Regions from separate parts of the Homo sapiens genome. Here all the other regions are linked to region 2. Evidence: promoter capture Hi-C in 16 types of primary human blood cells and fetal thymus (Javierre and others, 2016). All regions are on one chromosome and are shown on one strand. Each heading gives the region's core, a stretch centred on a gene start or on the middle of the fragment in contact. The rest is flanking DNA. Distances are from core to core; before and after follow the strand shown.

The links. Contacts are between HindIII fragments. The CHiCAGO score rates a contact against its expected background, and 5 or more counts as called.
Region 1: the fragment with the promoter of TMEM132A here is called in contact with the fragment with the promoter of SYT7 in region 2 in 2 of 17 cell types (erythroblasts and activated CD4 T cells); the score reaches 6.3 in erythroblasts.
Region 3: a contact is called between a fragment that was not itself captured here and the fragment with the promoter of SYT7 in region 2, in 1 of 17 cell types (erythroblasts). The highest score is 5.6, in erythroblasts.

Annotation. Positions count from the first base shown.
Region 1 is chr11:60,923,200-60,927,477 of GRCh38, reverse strand. It overlaps TMEM132A (transmembrane protein 132A), which reads right to left and starts at 3,018. Exons shown (of 11, transcript NM_178031.3): 1 at 2,745-3,018; 2 at 60-274. The coding sequence starts at 2,844. TMEM109 (transmembrane protein 109) reads right to left here. Exons shown (of 4, transcript NM_024092.3): 4 at 4,035-4,278. It overlaps LOC124902676 (a long non-coding RNA gene), which reads left to right and starts at 2,081. Exons shown (of 2, transcript XR_007062688.1): 1 at 2,081-2,259. RefSeq lists silencers at 2,373-2,442, 2,483-2,702, 2,763-3,122. The HindIII fragment of the contact is 2,439 bases long and covers 777-3,215 here.
Region 2 is chr11:61,579,529-61,583,735 of GRCh38, reverse strand. SYT7 (synaptotagmin 7) reads left to right here and starts at 2,660. Exons shown (of 13, transcript NM_001365809.2): 1 at 2,660-2,946. The coding sequence starts at 2,916. It overlaps LOC105369331 (a long non-coding RNA gene), which reads left to right. Exons shown (of 5, transcript XR_950166.3): 3 at 1-63; 4 at 1,091-1,140; 5 at 1,743-2,330. RefSeq lists silencers at 2,210-2,369, 2,380-2,529, 2,550-2,639. The HindIII fragment of the contact is 6,758 bases long and covers 1-4,207 here.
Region 3 is chr11:62,163,539-62,167,718 of GRCh38, reverse strand. No RefSeq gene overlaps it. Among named protein-coding and RNA genes, the nearest start is that of SCGB1D1, 25 kb to the left of the region's middle. The HindIII fragment of the contact is 3,257 bases long and covers 90-3,346 here.

The DNA.
Region 1 (4,278 bases), core at 1,769-4,268, 660 kb after region 2:
CAGCAGACCTCAGGCCCTGAGTCCTGTTAGCCTGAGAGTCCCCGGTGCCCCCTCCTTACCTGCTGAGTGGCAAAAGGTGGGTAGGAGGCCCGGAGAAGTGGCTGGGCCCTGGGCCAGGGCTGTAGGAGCAGAAAGGTCTCAGATCGGGAGCTCAGAGAGGAGTTGGCAGGTGGGTAGTGGCCCACCTGCTGCACACGGAAGTGTTCAGGGGCGTCTAGGAGCTCCAGGGCTGCCGGCAGGTAGACAGGGTCCAGGGGAGCCTGGCCACAGTCCACTGAAGAGGCATAAGAGGGAGAGATGATGACAGCTCCAGAGCTGGCAGGGGCTGACCCGGGTGCCATGCTGGGGCACAGTAGTTGTGGGCAAGGGAGGGAGAAAAGGGCTGTAAATGTCCCTTCCCCTCTCACCACCATTTCACAGATGAGGTCACTGAGGCTTAAAGAGCCTCACACAGGTAGTATGTAGCAAAGCCAGGATTCGAATCTGAGTCCAGGACTGGATGCTTCCCAGCTATTCCTTCTACTTTCCACAGACCTTGGCCTTCTTCTCGCCAACAGCCTTCTCAATGTCTCCTTTTCCCCAACTCCTGCCCTCCATCTACTCGCCTCTGATACCAAGGCACTTCTGGGGTGCAACCGTCGGCAGACTGGGCCAGTGTAGTAAAATATGGTAATGAAGTGAGCTTTCTCTGCCCTGAATCCTTGGCCAGGCTCTGCTGGGCATCCACCCCTCCTCCCCCATCATTGCCATGGCAACCTGCACCATCTTTCCAAGCTTGCTCCCTTCTTCCCTGAACCGACTGGTATCGAGTGCAAGTGTGGGATGGGCGGGCGCGGAAGGTGCTGAAGAGGTCTGTGAAGGCACTTGCTTGCCCTGGGGGTGGGGTGGGGACCAGGAGCCTGGGGAAGACAGTCAAAATAGTCAATCATCAGAAGGACAAAGGAGCACTAAGCCATATTGGTTTGCTCTAACTATGAGCACTAATAATAATAATTAGCATTTTGTGAATGCTATATGCAGGTGAGAATTTAAATACTGTATGTATATGAACTCTTTGAGTCTTTGTAATAATTCTGTGAACCAGGTTCTATTATGATGAATCCCATTTTGTGGATGTAGAAAATGAGGCCGAGAGGTTAAGGTATTTGCCTGTGGTTCCACAGCTGGAGAGTGAAGGAGCTGGGGGTTGATCCCAGGTATTAGCCACTAGACCATCCGGCGTCTCCACCTGCCACTTCTCTCTCCACTCTCCACTGCCACGGTGCACCCTGCAGGCTTCATGCCCTGGAGCGCACCTCCTCTCCTCTGCTCTGCCCGGTGGCACCTCCCTCCTCATTCAGGGCCATGAGTGAATACTGCCTCCTTCTGAAGGAAGCCCTCCTTGGTTACTCACCTTCCCACCAGTCTCCTGTCTTTTGCAACCCTGGGTGCCTCCTCTGAATTAGTAATCTTCCTATAAACAAGGGACCCTGTCTTGCTCATCCTGGAATTCCCCCAAACTAGGAAGCGCTCCCTAGAGAGGATTTCCTGGGAGCCTGGAGACCTGAATTTAAATTGATGAAACTTGGGTCAGGCATTAACATTTTGAAGCCTGTTTCCTCACTTGTAAAAGGGGCAGGAGCATTAGGTGGCACTGTGGACAGGACAGGGCTGTGTAAACTGTGGAGTGCTGTCTGGAGGGAGCAGGCATTATTGCTGCTGCATAATGGATTTGACAAGGTTTTCCTCCTCTCTCTATTAGGACTCCCATGGCGTCCCTCGGGATGGGGAGCAGGTGGCTGAAAGCAACCCCACAGCTAGCTCCCTCTCAGCCCCACAGCTGGACTGTGGGTGGGGGTGGGGGAATTGGTTTCAACCTCCTTCCTGGCCCTCCCCACCAAGGAGCATATGACTGACAGGCTCTCCCTGCCCCCTGCCCCAAGCGTAACAAGTGACCACTGCTCTCTGGGGGCAGCCACTGGCTTCAGGTTCGCCTCCTACTCCATTGCCTCCATAATTACAAGATGCTCTTAGCCTGACTCCCACGGACTCCCATCACCCAGCGCTCGGCTCTCTCGGTGGGGAGGGCAGAGAATGTTTCACTGTCCCTCTGTCTTCTGTGGCATCCTTTGCCTTGCAGCCACAGCCCAGCTAGCCCAGGCCAAGGGAGTCCGACCCCCACCCCGAAGCACAGGGAAGTTGCTGCCCTTTCCCGCAGTGACAGGAATCCTCTCAAAGGTTCTGGAAGGCAAGGATGCGGCCATCCCTGGAGACGCCAAGGTCAGGGAGCCCTGGGGGAAGGGGGAGGGAGGGCTTGCGTCTGTTGCAGGTCCCAGGCAAAGGGGCTGCTTTCCACTCCCGAGGGGGGTGGGTTGGTGGCGGCGGAAGGAGGCTAGGAGGGTGCAGCGCTACAGACCACAGTGAGGGAGTGGGGATGACGCTAGTGCGCCCGGGACCGGGGCCGCCGGGTTCGATGCCCGGGCTGAGGGGTCCCTCGCAGAAGGTGCGGGACGGGGAAGCCCCTGCGCCGGGCTGCCCCGGGTCAGGAAGGAGTTGCCGGGTCGTGCAAGGTGAAGGAAGCCTTAGGGGCGAGTGGCTGGGGGCAGGTTCCCGAGGGCAAGAACTCTCCGACCTTCAGGGCGCTGCGGGGCGACCCCGCTCAGGGTTCAGTCCGAGAACCCAAAGGTTGGTGGCTCCCGGGCATCACTCGCTCCCACTCGGCCGGGCCCGGCCGCCCCTCGCCCCGGCCCTCCCCTCCCGCTGACCTCTCACGACGTCCAGGGCGAGGGCCACCAGGAGGCAGAGCCAGGGGCCGTAGGGCCCCCGAGGGGCCGCTGTTGTGCGACCGGCCATCCGCGCGCACATCCTTCCCACAGAAGGCGGGGACGAGGCGGGCGGCTCAGGTGGCCCCAGTCCCGCACGGCATCTCCCGCACCCGCTCCGCGCCGTCCCCACCTGGCCCGCTGGGTCCCGGCCGCCGCCGCCGCCGCCGCCGCCCGCCCCGCGGCTGCAATTCCCAGACAATGGAGCGGGAGCAGTGGGGTGGGAGGGAGCGAATCGCAGCACATGGGCTGCCCCCTCCGCCCCGCCGGGTCCTAGTGCCCTACGGATCCCCAATCCCTGCGCGCTCAGGCGACCGAGGTCGGGAAGAGGGCCACGTCCCTGGAAGCAACAGAGGACGGCCGCCTCTGCCAGGAGGGACTCGGTGAGTTCTGTGTGGCTCCCTCACGGAAGCTTCTGATCAGGGAAGAAAAAGCCACTTTCTCTGCCTCACCCACCCCCACAAGCAGCTCACTTGTGAAGGCATCTGACACCTGAGTCAGAACCAGAATTCAGGGACACATGGGACGGGAGCTGCAGGGACAGGAAAGGAGGGAGGGGGTCAAACGGGGCCAGATGCCAACCACCTGAGCCTGCCCTGACAGAGCTAGGCCACCGCCGTGGAGGAAGGGCTCTAGGTGCAGGCAGCTCTAGTCTCTTGACCAGCTCCACCTGGGCAGCGTCCTGCAGCGCTTAGGAGGGTTGAGGGTTGCCCAACACTCCCGAGGGAAGGCCAGCCTCAAGGGTCCTGACCCAGTGTTGCCTACCAGGCAGTTTGGGGAGAGGCCCAGAGCAGGGGCCCCAGCTGCACACTCTCATGCCCTGGGCAGCTTACAAAGAAAAAATTATGTCTGAGGCCCTCCGCAAAATTGGTCCAGCCTGTGGGCCGACTGGAAACCTTGGCACAGGAAAGTCCTCAGGTGGGTGGTGAAGGGGAGGGCAGGCAAGTCTTCTCCAGGCTGCCCACCCACCTCAGCACACTGCAGGGAAGGGGTGACCCCTCTGCCCAGCAAGCACACGCATTTCCAGCAGTGCCAGTCGTTCCTACGTTTTGTAATGGGGGCATGCTTTCCTAATTCCTTGTGCTCCTGGAGGGAAGGGTACCTGGTACCAGCCTGCCTTTTCAGCTCTCCCCTCTGCCAGCTTCACACTGCCCCCACAGGGAGAAATTGGGAGGCGGAGCTGCACTACAGAAATGGGTTTAGCAGTAGAGGAGACATGGAAGCAATCCAGACTTGGAGTAAATACATTTTATTCAGAACAAGATAATAAAATAGCGTGCACTTTATTTAAAACCAACCAAGCACTGATAAAAAATATATATCACTGCAGCTGTGATTCCACATCAAACCTGAACAGTAAGAATTGGGCATTTATTCTTCACATCATGTGCCAAGCCTGGCAGAGAAGGACATCCACCTCCACTAGAGCCTCAAAGGAAAAGTGGCCCCTAACCACCAAGACAGGGTACCCTGGTGG
Region 2 (4,207 bases), core at 1,411-3,910:
CATCCTGGAACAAGGACCGTCTAATGCCCGTGAGGAGAGGATGAGACTGGGCTTCGTATTCTTGTAAGAAACAGGCTATAAGCCCTCAGATGGGAGCAAGCACTGGGTCTCCTCATGAATCCCACAGTGGTTAGCAAAGGGCTGGGAGTCTCAACCAGAGTGATTCTTACTCCAGGTTCTCTCACCAGCTCCCCAGGGTGCTGGCTCCGGGGCCTTTAGCTCCCTGGGTCAGTTCCTTCTCTTCTAGAGGCCTTGCCTTCATCACCTGACACTTGCAAGGGGCAGCCTGGGGCATCTCTCAGATGTCCTCTCTGTCAACTCTGAAAAACTTTAGATGCTTAGTAAAGACCTGTTGAGTGGTGGTGATGAGGAATTCTGCTCTCCCTCTCTGGACTTTCAGATTGATGGGTGGAGGGATCTGGAGTGGGGAGATTCCTCAGCAGGGAACCTGTCTGTGTGCCCATCTGTTGTGGGAGGGTGAGGGGTGCCCTATTTGCTCTTTTTTTTTTTGAGACCGGGCTCACTCTGTTGCCCGGGTTGGAGGGCAGTGGTGCAATCATGGCTCACTGCAGCCTCAAACTACTGGGTTTAAGCCATCCTCCCGTCGCAGCCTCCCGAGTAGCTGAGACCCCAGGGGCGCACCACTACACTGGGCTAATTTTTTTTTTCTTTGTAGATATGGGGTCTCACCATGTTGCTCAGGCTGGTCTCAACTCCTGGGCTCAAGTGATCTTCCCGCCCCGTCATCCCAAAGTGCTGGGCTTACAGGTGTGAGCTACCATACCCAGCCCCTGTTTACTCTTTACTAGGGTAATGAGAGAGGCAGCTGGGGTGGGTGGGGGAATGAGCCAAGGTTGCAGACCTTGCAGTCCCAGCCTGTTGGCTTAGCTTTCTGGGGTTTGCCAGGTCCCAAAGCAGAGTGTAGATAACTCCTGGGTTCTTGGCTGTACTTGGGTGAGTGGGGGGAAGACAGCTGTGAGGTGTATGGAATAGGATGGCCCTTCCCCAGAGGGTGAGGGCTGAGATTTCTGGCCACTGAGGAATTGTGGCCTTAACCTACGATGCCTTTTTTCCTTCCATTTTTATGTAGAACATTCATTCCCAGGAAATCTGCTCTCCACTGGAACAGTCTTCATGGAGGTTTGCTGGGGGAACTTCCTTATCTTTTTCTCAACCGGAAAAGCTGTAGGTGGAGGTGAATGTGTATGTGTGTATGTGTGTGTGTGGTGGTTGTTGGGGATAGCCTCCATGTGATTTCAAGGGGATGGGGTCTGTTTGTGTGTGTGTCGGGGAGACTTGAGATAGAGGGTTGTTCCTGGCTGCCTTCCACACTGTGGGCAGGTGGAGGTGTGGCTGGGCATGAGTAGTGCAGTATAAAGCCAGCAAAAGTGGATTTCTCAGGGTGGAAATAATAATCCTTGACTCTAGGAAGCCTGGCTCACCTGCAAACTGCATTCTCAGCACAGGGGAGGGCAGGATGCTGCCACAGACCCAGGGATTTTGCCCTCTTACCTGACCCATCAGTGAAGGGTAGGGGCAGCACCTGTATTGTGGGGAGCGTCAGTGTATGTGTCTCTTTGTGTGGGCAGCATGTCTGTGTGGGTGTGTGTGTGGGGGGCATCATGTCTGTGTGTGTGTGTGTGTGTGTGTATGTAGGTGATTACGTGTGTAGGTGTGTGCAGGGAGGTCTCTGTGCCTACCATACCACTAATGGTTCATTTCTGGGTTTTTCTTATCCTTAGGAGACAGGTCTCTTCTCCTCCCTGCCCCAGAATCAAATCATCCAAATTCTGTAGAGAAATGAGTGTTCACCTGATTTAGACTGTGCTGAGCCGGCAGAGAGGCAGAGGGGACCAAGAGAGGTCCAGGGTTGGAAGGAGAAGGAGGGATTTCCTTCCTACCCTCCGAAGTGCTAGGGTCAAGGAATAGAGGGGAGGATCAGAGGAGGAGCTGCTGCTATAGAGGGATAGCCAGAGGCTGAAAAGTCTATTTTCTTCTTTCGTGGGGCTGGGTTAGGTGAGGAGGGTCACTAGGCCAAACCTCCTACCGAGGGCAGGGATCTTAGCCCTTTCGGCTCCACCTGTGTGCGAGCTTGCAGAAAGACCGGACTGGCGGACCCAGGCTCAGCGCTGCCAAAAATTCCACTCCTGGTTTTTGCACACACCAGTCCGTCTGCCCCGGACCGCCGCGGTGTTGAGTCCGGAGCTGACGCCCTCGAGCCGCCAGCAAGCGGAAAACCCGGAGTGGATCTCCACGCCTTTTGGATCGGAGCCAAAGGGCACCTCGGAGGAGGTGGCCGGCTCTGCGGCCCTGCCCGGTGCCAGGCCGCGGCCATCGGGGGAGCACGGGCTGGGGGTGGGTCGCGCAGCGGAGCCGGATCCCCTGGCCGGACGAGCCCGGCCGTGGGGCTCGGCGGCCCTCCCCGCGGGGACTGCGAGGCGGGCGGGGCGCGGGGCGGCGGCCGTGCCCTCGGGGCGGCTTCGGGCGGCGGCGGGCGCGGGTGCAGTGCGGCGCGCGGCCGGCAGCGGGCGCAGGCGGTGGCTGTGGCCGCGGCGTTCGGCGGCTGGCGGGCGGCGCCGGCGGTGCCCCGGGCGCGCTCACACACGCGCTCACACACACACATACACACGGCCTCGTACACACACACACGCTCCGGCGCGCACACGCGGCGCGCAGGCCGGAGGGAGGCGGCTCGGCGCTGTTCGGCGGCGGCGGCAGCGTGCTCCGCGGGCGGGCGGGAGGGCTGGCGGGCGGCCCCCGCTCCCCGGCTCCGCGGCTAGGTGCAGCCCGCTCGGCCCCCGCCCTCGGACCCGCCCCCGGGGGTCGCCCGGCCCCATGCCCAGCGGCGGCGGCGGAGCAGCGCGCGGCCGCGGGCGGCTCTGAGGAGCCCGGAGGGAACCGGCGACGAGGGGACCATGTACCGGGACCCGGAGGCGGCCAGCCCAGGTAAGCGCGGCCCCGGCGGGCTGGGGCGCCCCGCACCGGCGGGCAGGACAGCGGCAGCGCCGGACGCCGTCTCGGAGCCCCAGCCTGGGGCTGTTGTCCGCCCGGAGCCGCACGGGCTCCCCCAGGGGTCATCCCAGCCCCGGGGGCGCGGGATCGAGCGGCAGCGGCTCGGACCCCGGTCCCCCGCAGTCTGGACACTGCCAGGCTGGATGTCTGGGACCGGCTTCGCAGTGTCCCCACAAGGACCTCTCCCCCACCCCTCAACAGCCCAAGGACAACGTGTGTGGCGGAGCGAGGAGCCGCTGCCCCTGTGGGAGCCGGGCAGTGCCCTCAGAGGCACCCGAGGCTCCCCAGCACCGGTGCCCCGGGGGTGCCAGCGCTGGCGGACCCCAGGGCGAGGATCCCGGCAGCTCTTGGCCAAGGTTGCGGGCACAGGGGAGCGGAGTGGCATCGCAGTGCCAACTGTGAATTGAGAGGGTGCCAGGGGGCAAGTGGGAATCTGGTGCGGCAGCTGGGCAGGGAGGTTCTGGGGGGTGGGGAACTGCAGGGGCGTTGATGGGTGAGACGGGGGTGCCTGAAGGGAAAGAGAGCAGGGGCTCATGAGAATGGGGGTGCCAAGAGAATGTTCTCCTAGGTTTGGGGAGGGGGAAGCAAACAACCCCAAACTCTCTCCCGTCCTGGGGTGGGGGAGGGCCGAACTCCTTTGCCTTCTGCTTCGCCCGCCAGGGGAGTGGCCTGGGAGCCCACTGTCTGCTTGGTATCCTCTAAGCCAAAGCCGAAGAATCTTCCCGTCTTCCTCGGAAATTGCTCTGCCATTTCCTCCTTGGCTCCTGATGCCTCCTCACCCAGTGCCCACCTGTAGGCAGGTCCCCTGCAGCTCCTGCCCAGGCTCCATCCCCGCTCCCACCTGGGGTGCTCCACCCAGTCCCAGCACCCCCAGTCTGCCAGTTCTGGCATCAGGGTCTGTTTCTGGGCTTCTCTCTGATGCTAAAAGCACGACTCCCCAGCCCAGGATGTGCTCCCAAACGAAGAGCCTCCAGGCTCCCTCCTGCCAGCCTCCTGGGGGCGGCGGTGCTGTAGGGAAGGAAGGGCTCTAAGACCCTGCACAGAAGGAGCCTGCAGCCCTGAGGCTCCTGAAGGCAGTCCAGTGGGTGCTGGCTTTGCCCACTGTTGCCCTAGCCCCACATTTGCTCTTTCCCCTCTAGGGGCAGCCTCAGCCTGTCCCTGCCTCCTGAGGAATCGGCTCCCACCCCCCATCGAT
Region 3 (4,180 bases), core at 469-2,968, 580 kb before region 2:
ACAATGGCCATTCCCCCATCATGATAAATGTGCCTAACTCTTTTCTTCCCACCTCCATGTGCAAAAAGGTAGTTGAGTCAAGCAAAGCTTCTTTGAGGGCTCCAGAGCTGACTTCCCAGCTGCTACTGGTCCTTTTGGGTCCTCTCCCAGTGTTGAGACTCCTGATTTCAAGGACCCTGATTTCAAGGGTGCTGATTTTGAGGGTCTGAAGAAGTTCAAAGAGGAGGTGGATATCCAGCCAGCTAAGCAGAAAACAGCAACAGTCAACGGTAGTGAGCCCCTCTCTGCCCTTCTCTCTAACAGTGACATCCTGAGTCAGGGCTCAGTCCTGGGCAGAACGAGAGTCCTGGGCAGTTCCCAAGAGGAACTGGCCTGGAGGCCCAAAGGGCGGGATATCCACTTCACTGTGCCTTATCAATGTGCAGCTCAGGTATGAGAATCTGGTCATTAGGGCCTGACCAGTAAAGTTCCCAATATCCAAAGTTACAGAGCCCCGAAAGTCCCCCAGCTGCCTAGAGGTGCTTAGCAAAAAGTAAAAATAATACAACTCTGTGTTTGACCCTCACGTACTCTACAGCTCCTTTGGCCACTCCCTTTCTCTGCCAAACCCCAGGACCCTGTGTACCCCTGCTGTTCTCCCTGTCCCACCAGATCTCCCCTGGCCTCACAGGAACCTGACAAAAGGGAAGTGAGACAGGACAGATATGAAGAAAATGTGAAGTGATGGTTATTTTACACCTAGGCATCAAGAGACACAGTCGTTTGCTCAGCAGGTGGGATTTCTCCACATAGGCGGCAAGGAGAAACAATGCCGGGGTCCAGCATCAGAGACAAAGCTGGCAGAATTCACCTGCCCAGACCCCTCCTGCCTCCTGTTTCCCATTGGCCAAAGTTCACCCCATGAACTTCAATTCCCTGCACTTCTGGGACATGTCATCTGTACAGCTCCATCAGTGATACCAGATCCCACGTCCTGCGGCCAGGGACCAGAAACCCCGGGTGGGAAATAGCAGTCTGGGAGAGGGCCCTACTTTGCCAGGGCAAGGACTGGGAAGTCCCCACTGGCATCAGAAAAGTCTGGGTGCTTTTGGCCAACAAGAGGCAATGGAGGGAAGCCTCTTAACATTTCTGATGTCTTGACATGCGTCGTAGCAGGCTTGCCTTAGAGCAACACCTTCGAAGTCCAGTGGAGCTTCCTGCCCGACTGCACACTCCACACAACCTTGGGCTTGAGGTTGCTTTAACTCTTTGAGTGTCACTTTCCAGAGACTTAAAATGAAGATGAAGATAATATCACCCCTCAATCAGCAAATGCGATTGAAGGTTATGGCCAACGCAACTCAACTCGCCCAGTGCCTCACACACAGTAGGCACTTTGCGATTAAAGGTTGTCATCCATATTCCCAGACTATTCCCCGGGAAGTGGTTAGACAGAGCTGGACAACAAACCCCATCTCCTTGGCCCTGACACAGGGAGTGGCAAAAGGAGCTGTAGAGTCCACATCAGGGCCAAACACAGATTTTTATTATTTTTATTTTTTGCTAAGTGACTCCAGGCAGGTGGCGGACAATTAGGGGAGGTCCCTGTTGTAATTCCCAGCCCTGCCCTCCTACCCGAGGAATGAGAGAGGATTCCCTGCATTGCAGTCTGCATGTTGACCTCATGTAGACTAACACGCCTTAGTCTACTGGAGGGAGACAGAGAACACCCTGCATTCTCTGCCCGAGTCACTCTCCTCAATCTGCTTCAGTAGAACGTGAGACACAACTGTTGAAGGCCAGCAGCCCCTGGTCCCGAGCGCGGCAGTGCCACAGTGGATGCTCTCCCACCTGAGCCCTCGGACTGGGCCTCAGTGGGTCCTGCTCCCACAAGTGTCACTGTCTCAATCCGGAGAGTGGAGCTCGTAGGAACAGGACCTCATTGCCACATTTTCTTGGCCCCTTTCATTAAAAACACTGCAATCACCTTCATGGTAAGGCTCCTCCCTGTGGAGGTCTCCTACAGAAGTAGGTGAGGACTGGTTGCTGGGATTGAAGAGAGTGGCATGGTAGCTGAGGATAATAAGGGGTACTGGGGTAAGACGGAGAGGTTTGGGGGCCACACAAGTTGTCCATCTAGGGAACGTAGAGGTCACCTAGATCAAGCCAGTGTTGCCCAAGTAGCAAAAAAAAAGAAAAAAGAAAAAAAAAGTCTGGTCTTTTTTAGCCCCGAGAGGTGTCTTTGATGAAATTCTGACCAGATGAAGCCACCATCACTGCCCTGGGCTTACACATTACCTACATACCCTAAATCAATCACTGTCTGTTTTCTGTCTTTCTCTAAGCCATAGAGCCTGCTCTCTATCTGTTAAGTCTAGGGCCATCACAAACATGCAAACAATGACACTGTAAGATAACTTGGGCCAGGTGCAGTCACTCAAGCCTGTAATCCCAGCACTTTGGGAGGCGGAGGGTAGGTAGATCACCTGAGGTCAGGAGTTCGAGACCAGCCTGGCCGACAAACATGGAGAAACCCCATCTCTACTGAAAACACAAAAATTAGCCAGGCATGGTGGCGGATGCCTGTAAGCCCAGCTACTCGGGAGGCTGAGGCAGGAGAATAGCTTGAACTCAGGAGGCAGAGGTTGCAGTGAGCCGAGATCATGCCACTGCACTCCAGCCTGGGTGACAGAGCGAGACTCCTTCTCAAAAAACAAACAAACAAACTAACAAAACAAAACAAAACAAAACAAAACAAAAAACACCACATAAGATAACTGGGGCAGAAGGCCTCTAGCCCCTAGCCCCTAGCCCCTTTCCCTACCATTCCCGCAGTAGTGGCTGCACCCCTCCAGTCCTTTCTGCTGCACCCCCAGCACCTCTGGGGCACTTTCTGAGTTAAATAATTAGTTATAGGAGTCCTCACTGGGCATAATCCATACTTGTCTTATTACAGTGTCCCAGGGGCAAGTAGGACAGGAGCCCTGCAGAGGGCTCCTGCCTCTGTTATTCTCAAATCACAACTCAAAGACACTAAACACATTCCTCAAGATCCCTTACTCCAATTCTCAAGGACCAATTCCCCACTCAACCAATCCTGCCAGGCCAGGGGCAGAGCTGGCAGGAAGAATAGAGATCCAAAAAAAAAAAAAACCGTCATAGCTTTCATGGGTTATTAGCTCCTGTTCTTTTATAGGAGCTCCTATTAGCTCCTATTCTTTTATAGGTAGAATAGTTCACCTGAAATTAATCTGATACTATCAACTTTCCTATATCATAATAGCAGAGGAATGGGCATATTTAAAGTGCAAATTAATACAGGTAGGGGTATGTGTGTGTGTATCTGTGGGCAAGTAAGATTAAAGCTTCATGGATCAGGCAACCAAACCTGAGTCAAAGTATCCATCTTCATGTCAGCTGTTTCAGGCTTAATAAACTGCAATAAAAGCAAATACCCCCACAAAGGAATGACTACTTAAAAGGCACTTTAAAAGCCCCCCTGGCCGGGTGTGGTGGCTCACACCTGTAATCCCAGCACTTTGGGAGTCCGAGGTGGGTGGATCACCTGAGGTCGCGAGTTCGAGACCAGTCAGGCCAACATGGTGAAACCCCATCTCTACTAAAAATACAAAATTATCCAGGCATGGTGGTATGTGCCTGTAATCCCAGCTACTAGGGAGGCTGAGACAGGAAAATCACTTGAACTCGGGAGGCGGAGGTTGCAGTGAGCTGAGATTGCACCATTGCACTCCAGTCTGGGCAACAAGAGTGAAACTCTGTCTCAGAAAGGAAAAAAACAAAAACAAAAAAGAACTCCCCTTTGCAAGCTGTAGTTTACTTCCTCCTTCCAGCATGCAGGGTAGATCTCTTTGGTTGAGAACATTCAAAATTACTGGACAGGAGTGGGGATGTGGTTGGGGTTGGCCATGTAAGTTACTTTCTACTTTGCTGGCTCAGAGCAGTGAGCACTGTAAGGAGTACAGAGCAGGTGCTTCAGGCATCAGGTAACTCAGCTTAGCTCTGAGTGCTGCTACCCAGGTTTCTATAGATGTCCAAGGAAGCCTCAGAATCAAGCTCCAAGAGGTTCAGATAGGAGAATAACCTGCGATCTGCATTGTTTGCAATCCCTTGGAATACAGGTTACAGCCCACTTTCCTTCTCATGCCTGCTCTTTCTTCTTTCTTAAACCTGGAGGAATGTT